2 separate regions of the Homo sapiens genome follow, and region 1 is linked to region 2. The links are contacts of gene promoters, found by promoter capture Hi-C in blood cells and fetal thymus (Javierre and others, 2016). All regions are on one chromosome and are shown on one strand. Each heading gives the region's core, a stretch centred on a gene start or on the middle of the fragment in contact. The rest is flanking DNA. Distances are from core to core; before and after follow the strand shown.

Region 1 (4,324 bases), core at 1,825-4,324, 270 kb after region 2:
CATGGTGCAGGTGGTACTGGTTCCTGTGGGGGGACGGCCGTGGGCACCCAGGCTGCACTTGGTGTCCCCATCCCGCCCTCCAGAGGCAGAGGCTTCGCTCCCCGTCTCCCTGGAGACGCACCCCTGGACAGCCACTTGCCTTAGAGGCATCTCCGGGGCTCAGACGCCTCCCGTGGCCATAGAGGCATCCCCGGGGCTCAGACGGTCTCCCGTGGCCTTAGAGGCATCTCCGGGGCTCAGGCGGCCTCCCGTGGCCATAGAGGCATCTCCGGGGCTCAGACGGCCTCCCGTGGCCATAGAGGCATCCCCGGGGCTCAGACGGCCTCCCGTGGCCATAGAGGCATCCCCGGGGCTCAGACGGTCTCCCGTGGCCATAGAGGCATCCCCGGGGCTCAGACGCCTCCCGTGGCCAAGGACCACTCCCCAGGAGCCACGCCTGCCAGGGGTGCCATGGGCATCAGAGGGCCCTGTGGGAGGGGGGCGGGGGGCAGCAGAGGCCTCGTCTGGGGACACAGCCCCAGCAGGATCCAAGTAGCCCCCTCGGACCCCCTCGGATGGGACTCGCGGAGCTGCCCCCACCATGTGATGGGGCCACCCTGTGTCCCCACCCCTCGGTCCTGCCTCTCCCGTGCCACCCTCCCCAGGAGCAGCCACAGCTCCAGCCTGCACTGGGGGCCCAGGGCTCTGCCTCCTCTCTGCGGCCCCCACCCCAGGCACTCCTAGGGTGGGGGTTTCTCTCTGGAGCCCTGAGGGGACTGTTGCCGAGGGGCTGTGGGTGAACCCAGGGTGAGGCCAGCCATCCTAGGAAGCCGAGTGTGAGGCTTCTTAACAACATCGGTTTCTCTGGAAATCCAGCCCAAGGCTTCCCTAATCTGACTCTGCACCTTCTTAGCTGGTGCCAGATGGCGCCTGGTCGGGAGGTGGACCCAGGGATGCCATCTGAGGGGCCTGGGCTTCTCTAGCCCTGTGGCCGAGGTGTCCACCTCCTCCTCTGCCCAAACGCCCAGCAAGGGTCTCAGCTCTCAAACTACCCCAGGCCGACCCTGTGCCCCATACAGCCCCACTTCACACGGGTACCACTGCCAAAGGAGTGGTCAAAGCCAGAGGCTGCCTGCCAAGGTCCCGGCACCTGAACCCCATGTGACCGTGTCCTATCGTGTTCCCCCGGGAAACGTTGCACCCACACTGAGTGGCAGGCGCGGGTGCTGCCCTGGTCCTGACCTGGGGCTCCTGGGCACGTGGAAAGTGGGACACGCTGTGGGGTCCTCACGCAATTCTGTATGTCCGGGGGATATAAGCCCATTTTAAGGAGGGTAGATGACAGAGGCTCAGAGAGGACAGGAGGCCGGTCCAGCCCAGACAGGGCCCAGCCTGTGTCCCCAACCAGCACCCAGGCCATAGGCCACCTCATAGGGACAAACAGGTGACAGGGGCCAGGAACACAGGGACTCCACACCCAGAAGATGTAGCCACCTGAGACCCCCAGGCCTGAGCCTCCAGGTAGGCAAAGAGGTTGGGGCAACCTCTCCCACACTCAAAAGACCCCCAAGACCAGAACAGCCTCCCAGATCAGAACAGCTCCTCAGACCAGGAAAGCGCCCCCCAGACCAGAACAGCCCCCCCGAGACCAGGACAGTGCCCCCAGACCAGGAGAGCCCCCCAGACCAGGACACCCCCTCAGACAGAACAGTCCCCCAGACCAGGACAGCCCCCCAGACCAGGACAGCCCCCCCCAGACCAGGAGAGCCCCCCAGACCAGGACACCCCCTCAGACAGAACAGTCCCCCAGACCAGGACAGCCCCCCCAGACCAGGACAGCCCCCCAGACCAGGACAGCCCCCCCAGACCAGGACAGCCCCCCCAGACCAGGAGAGTCCCCCAGGCCAGGACATCCCCTCACACAGAACAGTCCCTGAGACCAGGACAGCCCCCCCAGACCAGGACACCCCCTCACACAGAACAGACTCCCAGATCAGGACAGCCCCCCAGACCAGGACAGCCCCCCAGACCAGGACAGCCCCCGCCAGACCAGGACAGCCCCCCCCAGACCAGGAGAGCCCCCCAGACCAGGACACCCCCTCACACAGAACAGATTCCCAGACCAGGACAGCCCCCAGACCAGGACAGCCCCCCCCAGACCAGGACAGCCCCCCAGACCAGGACAGCCCCCCCCCAGACCAGGAGAGCCCCCCAGGCCAGGACACCCCCTCAGACAGAACAGTCCCCCAGACCAGGACAGCCCCCCAGACCAGGACAGCCCCCCCCAGACCAGGAGAGCCCCCCAGACCAGGACACCCCCTCAGACAGAACAGTCCCCCAGACCAGGACAGCCCCCCCAGACCAGGACAGCCCCCCAGACCAGGACAGCCCCCCCAGACCAGGACAGCCCCCCAGACCAGGACAGCCCCCCCCAGACCAGGACAGCCCCCCCAGACCAGGACAGCCCCCCAGACCAGGACAGCCCCCCCAGACCAGGACACCCCCTCAGACAGAACAGTCCCCCAGACCAGGACAGCCCCCCCAGACCAGGACAGCCCCCCAGACCAGGACAGCCCCCCCAGACCAGGACAGCCCCCCAGACCAGGACAGCCCCCCCCAGACCAGGACAGCCCCCCAGACCAGGACAGCCCCCCAGACCAGGACAGCCCCCCCAGACCAGGACACCCCCTCAGACAGAACAGTCCCCCAGACCAGGACAGCCCCCCCAGACCAGGACAGCCCCCCAGACCAGGACAGCCCCCCCAGACCAGGACAGCCCCCCAGACCAGGACAGCCCCCCAGACCAGGACAGCCCCCCAGACCAGGACAGCCCCCCCAGACCAGGACACCCCCTCAGACAGAACAGTCCCCCAGACCAGGACAGCCCCCCCAGACCAGGACAGCCCCCCAGACCAGGACAGCCCCCCCAGACCAGGACAGCCCCCCAGACCAGGACAGCCCCCCAGACCAGGACAGCCCCCCAGACCAGGACAGCCCCCCCAGGACATCCCTTTGGACCCTCACCTGGGCTGGCTGCCCACTTCCCGGAGCGGCAAGGAGGAAGCTGTGCTTAGACGCTTCTGTGTCCGCGCACCTGGCGTCCAGCCTCTCCCTGCCCCTGGGTCCAGGACAGCTGGGGTGGGCGGGGCAGGGCGGTGACAGCCTCGGGCGATGCGCTGTGCACCTGGCTCCAGGGCCCGCAGGCTGAGGCCAGCGCCCAAGGTCGCCCCGCCCACTCCACCCTCGGGTCCCCCGCCCAGGGTCTCCCCGCATCTCCCACCCGCGGGTCTGTCTCGGTGCCCAGGGTCGCCCCGCCCCCGGGGGGGTGGGAGGCAGGAGAGGGAAGCTGAGGAGGAGCCTGGAGCTGCGAGGGGCAGAACTCCGGGACCCCGCCCCCCACGGCCCGCAGCCGCGCTCCTGACCCCGGCCCGGACTTTACCCCCCGTGCCGCCCGGCCCGGGCAGGTCGGAGTCAGGTGACCCCGAAGGTCCAGGCCCGGGGCGGGGGCGGAAGCGCCTGCAGCCCCGCGGCGCCCGTCGTTTTCCATTTGCAGCCACTCTGCCTTTCCCGCTCGCCGTGGGTCCCGGGGCCGCCGCCGTCGGGGTCCGGGCCTCTGAAGCGGGGCGGGGCTGGGGGAGGCGCGGAGCCAGGGCCGGGCTGGGTGGGGCTGGGGGTGTTGGGGGGCGGGGAATAGGGTGGGGGAATGCGGGGGGGCGGTGAATTCCTTTCTGTGTGAGATCCAAGAACCCTCTTGGGGTCTCAATCGGGACTCTCTTTACTGGTAGCATATTTGGTGTCATGTGTGTGCATTTTTGTGCTTTTTCTTGGTGATTTCACTGTTTATAATGGCGTCTCAGCATAGTGCAGAAATGCAAGAAGGCTGAGATGCACTTTACAGAGAAAACACACATTGGATAAGCTTCATTCGTGCAAGAGTTAGCGCTGTTGGCCATGAGTTCAATGTTAGTGATACAATACATATTAAGTAAGGTGCCCTTAAACAAAAATACACATAAAAGAAGGTTTTATTAATATATTGATCATTTAACAAAAATGTGACCAGAAGCTTGCAGGAACAGAACTTTGCATTTCCCTTAGGAGCAATAGTTTAGCATATTCTTTAATTCAGTGTTTGCAGCAACTTTATACACTAGCTGCCATGGGTCATAAGAGTCAAATGTGTTTGTTGAGGATTTTTGCAGTTGTGTTCAACAAAGTTGCATAGTTTTCTTTTTTAGTCCTGGTTTCTGTATGGGGATAATGCTGGGCTTATAAAATGAGTCTGGGAAGTTGTCCTTTTTTTTTTTTTTTTTTGAGATGGAGTCTCGCTCTGTCACCCAGGCTA
Region 2 (6,210 bases), core at 2,191-4,690:
CAAGAGGGACCCATGAGGCCTGGCTGCTCAGCTTCCTGGGGAAGGGACTTGGCATGCAGGATGGGTGGACAGTGAGAGCCTGTAGGCCTGGGGGCCACTGGAGGCTCAAGGAGCAGGTGGAAGCACCATTCCTGGAGCCACCTCTGCTGCGGAAAGCGGGCAGAGCTGATGCTGCAAAGTCTGAGCCAGGAGTCCCGCAGGGAACAGGGAGGGGGAATAGCGCAGGGATCGTGGGCTGGGCAGGCTGGGGAAGAGGGGGTGTCCAGGCAGACAGGAGAAACAGCGATTTGGGGCAGGCAGCCACGGGGGGCAAGCACAAATGTCGTGCAGGTGATGGGCCACTTTCAGAGGGTGACACTGGGTCCCAGGGCCCTGCCTGGAGCGAGGCCAGGTGCAGCTCAGAGACCCTCATGGTGCCCTCCCAGGGACATGTTCCCAGCGGAACCCTCACCCGAGCCTCTCTGGGCACCAGGGACCGTCCTCTGGGGCCAGTTCTGGCATCACGTGGCATCTGGGGCTGGCCCCGCCCTGCAAGGCTGAACTGTGGGGGGCACTGCCAGCTGGGGGTCTGGGCAGGGGAGGGCAGCCCAGCTCCCACCTGGTCTCTGGGGCTGCGAGCTTATTCAGAGGGAGGCGTGGGTGGGGGGCTCCTTTGGGTAGGGTGGGGTCAGTCCGGCTGCGGAGATCCCCTGCCCCTGTCCTGTGGCCGGTCCGGGCCAGGGCGGCACTGGGCGCTGAGGGCTGGGGTCCCTGGCGGCCGGCGGGGCCAGCGGGTATTGATTGTTGGTTCTTATTTATAGAGCACCGGGGGTGGACGCGGCGCTTTGCAAAACCAAAAAGACACAGTGCTGCCGCGACGCGCTATTGAGAGGGAGGAGGGCCAGCTGCAGCTGTGTTCCCGTCATAGGGAGAGCTGAGACTCCCCGCCCGCCCTCCTCTGCCCCCTCCCCCGCAGACAGACAGACAGACGGACGGGACAGCGGCCCGGCCCACGCAGAGCCCCGGAGCACCACGGGGTCGGGGGAGGAGCACCCCCAGCCTCCCCCAGGCTGCGCCTGCCCGCCCGCCGGTTGGCCGGCTGGCCGGTCCACCCCGTCCCGGCCCCGCGCGTGCCCCCAGCGTGGGGCTAACGGGCGCCTTGTCTGTGTATTTCTATTTTGCAGCAGTACCATCCCACTGATATCACGGGCCCGCTCAACCTCTCAGATCCCTCGGTCAGCACCGTGGTGTGAGGCCCCCGGAGGCGCCCACCTGCCCAGTTAGCCCGGCCAAGGACACTGATGGGTCCTGCTGCTCGGGAAGGCCTGAGGGAAGCCCACCCGCCCCAGAGACTGCCCACCCTGGGCCTCCCGTCCGTCCGCCCGCCCACCCCGCTGCCTGGCGGGCAGCCCCTGCTGGACCAAGGTGCGGACCGGAGCGGCTGAGGACGGGGCAGAGCTGAGTCGGCTGGGCAGGGCCGCAGGGCGCTCCGGCAGAGGCAGGGCCCTGGGGTCTCTGAGCAGTGGGGAGCGGGGGCTAACTGGCCCCAGGCGGAGGGGCTTGGAGCAGAGACGGCAGCCCCATCCTTCCCGCAGCACCAGCCTGAGCCACAGTGGGGCCCATGGCCCCAGCTGGCTGGGTCGCCCCTCCTCGGGCGCCTGCGCTCCTCTGCAGCCTGAGCTCCACCCTCCCCTCTTCTTGCGGCACCGCCCACCCACACCCCGTCTGCCCCTTGACCCCACACGCCGGGGCTGGCCCTGCCCTCCCCCACGGCCGTCCCTGACTTCCCAGCTGGCAGCGCCTCCCGCCGCCTCGGGCCGCCTCCTCCAGACTCGAGAGGGCTGAGCCCCTCCTCTCCTCGTCCGGCCTGCAGCCCAGAACGGGCCTCCCCGGGGGTCCCCGGACGCTGGCTCGGGACTGTCTTCAACCCTGCCCTGCACCTTGGGCACGGGAGAGCGCCACCCGCCCGCCCCCGCCCTCGCTCCGGGTGCGTGACCGGCCCGCCACCTTGTACAGAACCAGCACTCCCAGGGCCCGAGCGCGTGCCTTCCCCGTGCGGCCCGTGCGCAGCCGCGCTCTGCCCCTCCGTCCCCAGGGTGCAGGCGCGCACCGCCCAACCCCCACCTCCCGGTGTATGCAGTGGTGATGCCTAAAGGAATGTCACGCAGTTTTCGGTCTGTGTCGCTTGTTGACGCCGGCAGACAGTGTAAAGGGAGGGCAAAGGCATGGGGGAAGCTTCGAGCGCTCCAGGCGGCCGCGGCCGCTCAGGCTTGGGCGGCAGCGGCGGGGCTCCCCGGGTCCGCGGGCGAGGCACAGCCGTGGGGGTCGGGATCGGGGTTCGGGTCTGGCGGTCTCGGCGGGCGGAGGGCGGCGGTGCGGAGGCGGCGGCGGCGCGCACGGCAGGCGGTGAGCCCAGAGCCCAGCGCCAGGCAGGAAGCCAGGCTGACGAGGAAGGAGGCCGGCCCGAGCGTGTAAACCACGGCCAGGTCCCGCAGGGCGAGCGGCTGCGCGCAATGGCTAAAGGCGGCGTCGGAAAAGGCAGTCAGGGGGCTGAGCGTCAGGCGTCCCGGCCACACGCAGAGCACCGTCTCGGCCTCTGTGGGACACAGACAAAGGCGCGGCGTCAGGTGGCGGCTGCCGCACCGCCCTGCAGACCCCGACCCGCGTCCCCAGCAGCTCACCTGACGCGGGCAGCGGGTGCCGGCGCAGCCAGGCGCAGAGCGGGCGCAGCGCGCACCCGCAGCCCCAAGGGTTGCCGCGCAGGTGCAGCGCGTCTAGAGCGGGCAGGCGGCCCAGCAGCCCCGGCGCGAGTGCCGCCAGCTCGTTGTCCTGCAGGCTGAGTGAGCGCAGCAGCGGGAGCGCGCCTAGCGCCGCGGGCTCCAGGCGCGCCAGCCGGTTGCCGGCCAATGAGAGGTTGCGCAGCGCGCGCAGCGGCGCGAAAGTCCCTGGTGCCAGTGCTTCCAGCTGGTTGGCGCTCAGGTCCAGCAGCTGCAGCGCGCCCAGGCCCCAGAAGGCTCGCACATGCACCGAGTGCAGCCCGTTCTCGCGCAGGTCCAGGCGCTGTAGCGCGCCCGCTCCCGCGAAGGCACCTGGCGGCAGCGCACGGACGCGGTTGTGGTCCAGCAGCAGCGCGCGCAGGCGCAGGCTCAGGCCCGGGGGCACGGCGGGCAGCGAGAGTGCCGAGCAGCTGGCCAGGCCTCCCGGCACGCACGTGCACACCTCGGGGCAGTCCGGGGCGCCCAGGGACCCCGAGGGCGAGGCCGTGGCCGACACCTGGGCCCAGACAGGCCAAGGCGACAGCAGCAGCAACAGCAGCAGCAGCGGCCGAGGCCGCGACCAGGAAGGGCCCCGCATGGGGGCAGCCCCCCCGCCCCCGGCACCCGCGGTGGGAGGCCCGCTGCCTGTGCGTCCCTGGAGCCCGTCGTCCGCGGAGCCCGTTCCTGCGGCGCCTGCACAAATATTAACTCTCTGGCCCGAGCTCAGGCAGTTCCTGTCCCACGGCTGGATCCACGCTTGGGGCGGGGGCAGGGCAAACAGCCAACGCCCGGCACCGCCAGCCACCTGTCCGGGAGCTCCAAACTACTCTTGGCTCAGCGCCGGCCACAGCGCTATCAAGACCACCTCACCCCGCCTTGTCCACCACCGGGCGCCCGCCGAGCCCTGACCTGAGCAGCAGGACACCGCCCACCTGCACCCGCCCAGCTCACGGCTGCAACAGGCGCCCACACGCAATGCAACCCAGAGGTCCTGCTCCTCACCCGTCTCGACCCCACCCAGGCTCCGCAAAGTGATCCCAACGTGCACATGCGGAGTGGCCCCCACGCAGGGATGGTCCCATTCCCATGCTGGATAGGGCCTGGGTTGGAGACAGGCCTTGGGGTGGAGGGAGACAGCACACCCGAGGCAGGAGAGGCGTGCCTGCCCCACCCCTCCCCCCCAGGACTCTCCTGGGATAGAGGTACAGACCAGTGCAGTGGGGCAGGGGTATCAGCCCAAGTCCTGCTGTTAAACCCAGCGCCCTTCACAGTTGCCAGTTGCAGGTCCTGTTCTAGGGGCTTTCCAAAGCTGGGTGCAGGAAGGAGCCGGGCTGACCAGCTGTGGCAGAGAAGGTGGAAACATTAGGGGTATGGCTTACTGCCAGGGGGCAGAGGAACAGGGGAACTTGCTGTGGGGCCTGGGCACTCTGCTTTGATGAGACCCATATGCGCGTGCACCCCCCATGATGCAGCCGTGAGGGGTGTGAGGGCCTGCAGGGAGGACGGTGCACAACCACTAAACAAGCTTTAATTCCCCTCCCCCAGCTGCCCTCAGGAGGGCCTGCAGGGAGGACAGTGCACAGCCACTAAATACGCTTTAATTCCCCTCCCCCAGCTGCCCTCAGCCCTCTACTCAGGTGGTAGGGGCGGGGGTGGTGGCGGCTCCTCTGAAGAAGCCTCCATGGGGATGGCCACAAGGCTCTGATCCTCTAGTGGTGGCACCAGGGAGACCTCCAGGTCAGCGTCCATTAGCTGGGACTCCACGTAAACCGGGTGCAGGTCCATGAGATCTTCCTGGACCCCAAAATTCTCCACCAACCTGCATGACGGGCCGGGTCATCACGAGCTGGTAGAGTCCTTGTTCCCCCAGGACAGGCTGGCGTCTGGGACAGTGCACCCCCACAAAGGGCCTCCCTTGGGACAGCACACCTCCTCTTCCAGGGACAGCACCCCTCCTCCTCCAGGGACAGCACCCCTCCTCCTCCAGGGACTCCCCTGGGATAGCTCCCCCCGCCAAGGGCCTCCCCTGAGACAGCGTGCCTCCCTCGAGGGCCTCCCTGGTGCTCACCTGTTGTCCACTTGTCTCGGGCATGTTTCACTGAGGGGACGAAGGCCAACATGAGTCCTGGAACAGTGCTGGGCCCCCGGAGCTCCCCCAGCACACGCCTAGGAAACGCCATTCCTACCCCAGGTGACAGCCCACCCAGGGGGTAAAGCCCTTCTTGCAAGACCAAGGGCCCAGGGCAGCCAGCCTGGCCTCACTCCCATCCTCTCCCGGCCCCAGGGTTCACGCACCCCTTGGCCCGCAAGACACCAATTGCCACGATGACGAGGGCACAGAAGCAGCTGGCACTGATGCCCGCCAGCACCACAAGGAGGGCGATGAGGGCCTCGCGGCTGAGGCCAAGGCTGCATTCACAGTAGGTTCCAGCTGCAGAGACAGGGCCACATGGCCATGGGCCGGTCACCTGCCTGCAGAGGGCCCCCAAGTCTGCCCCTGCCCTGGTAGCCACCAGAAGGACACCAGAGCTCCCACCTTGCCTGGGGAAGGGGAGCCATGGCTGGGAGTGGAGTGCGGGGGCAGGAGGAGGCACCTGCAGCAGGGATGAGCAGAAGGGACAAATATGTGAGGCCCAAGGGGCCACCACGCAGGCAGGACACAGGCCAGGGACCGGGGGCCATGTCCAGCCCTGGCCCCACTGCACACCTCTGACGGAACTGTTGGAAGGTGCTGACTTCACAGTAGGACTGTGAGGTGGGGGTGGGGGGGCTCACAATGCCAGTGTGTCATTTGCCCTTGGGCACCGCAATTCAAGGAGCCATGGCCAAGCAGCTCTGGGAATGGGACAGGTAGGGTGGGCAGAGGCCTGAGAGCCCAGCCAGCTCAGGCCAGCTCTGAGGCAGAGGCAGCAGTGGGGCTGGCCTGGTCTTACGGGCAGTCCTTCAGTGGTTTCACCGTGTTAGCCAGGATGGTCTCGATCTCCTGACCTTGTGATCCGCTCGCCTCGGCCTCTCAAAGTGCTGGGATTACAGGTGTGAGCCACTGCGCCCAGCCAAATCCTTCACAGTGAAAGGGGGTGGGCAGCACTCCAGGCCCCGATGTGGGTGCGGTGGCCTGGCAACCTTGCAGGGTGGGCGGCAGGCAGCCTCGGCCTCAGCTCCCTCCCAGCATAAGGGCTGCGGCAGCTCAGCATGTGGGCTGGGCTCCAGCTGGCTGTAGGTCACCTTCCTCCAGGGCTGGGGCAGGAAGGGGCCAAGGAGGGCTAAGGGGGTGGGCTTGCACCCATCCTCCCTCCCCACTGCTTCTGGGAGGGTCTGGCTCACGCCCTGGCAAAGCTCAGGTCAGAAGGGCTGCCGGCACCCAAGGGAATCCCCCATCAACTTGGAAAGGTCTGGGGGACACTGGCCACCCCTGTCTGAGCAGGACCCCAAGCCCTGCCTCCCAGACATCCCCCAAGGCTCCAGACTAAAGGTG

Evidence for each region. The method cuts DNA at HindIII sites, captures the fragments that hold promoters and counts their contacts. A CHiCAGO score of 5 or more calls a contact.
Region 1: a contact is called between the fragment with the promoter of ENTPD8 here and the fragment with the promoter of LRRC26 in region 2, in 5 of 17 cell types (endothelial precursors, non-activated CD4 T cells, naive B cells and 2 more). The highest score is 7.1, in endothelial precursors.

What each region holds. Positions count from the first base shown.
Region 1 is chr9:137,438,283-137,442,606 of GRCh38, forward strand. It overlaps ENTPD8 (ectonucleoside triphosphate diphosphohydrolase 8), which reads right to left and starts at 3,075. Exons shown (of 10, transcript NM_001033113.2): 1 at 3,004-3,075; 2 at 1-23. The coding sequence starts at 3. RefSeq lists a silencer at 2,935-3,229. The HindIII fragment of the contact is 13,084 bases long and covers 1-3,896 here.
Region 2 is chr9:137,166,611-137,172,820 of GRCh38, forward strand. It overlaps LRRC26 (leucine rich repeat containing 26), which reads right to left and starts at 3,441. Exons shown (of 2, transcript NM_001013653.3): 1 at 2,661-3,441; 2 at 2,148-2,575. The coding sequence starts at 3,333. The coding sequence ends at 2,244. It overlaps TMEM210 (transmembrane protein 210), which reads right to left and starts at 5,446. Exons shown (of 4, transcript NM_001282477.2): 1 at 5,330-5,446; 2 at 5,031-5,166; 3 at 4,804-4,833; 4 at 4,248-4,554. The coding sequence starts at 5,417. The coding sequence ends at 4,365. It overlaps MIR3621 (microRNA 3621), which reads right to left and starts at 2,660; the gene lies at 2,576-2,660. It overlaps GRIN1 (glutamate ionotropic receptor NMDA type subunit 1), which reads left to right. Exons shown (of 20, transcript NM_007327.4): 20 at 801-2,146. The coding sequence ends at 917. It also overlaps LOC124902315. RefSeq lists an enhancer at 1,080-1,944 and silencers at 1,714-1,833, 2,064-2,173, 2,414-2,933, 3,094-3,153. The HindIII fragment of the contact is 2,046 bases long and covers 2,213-4,258 here.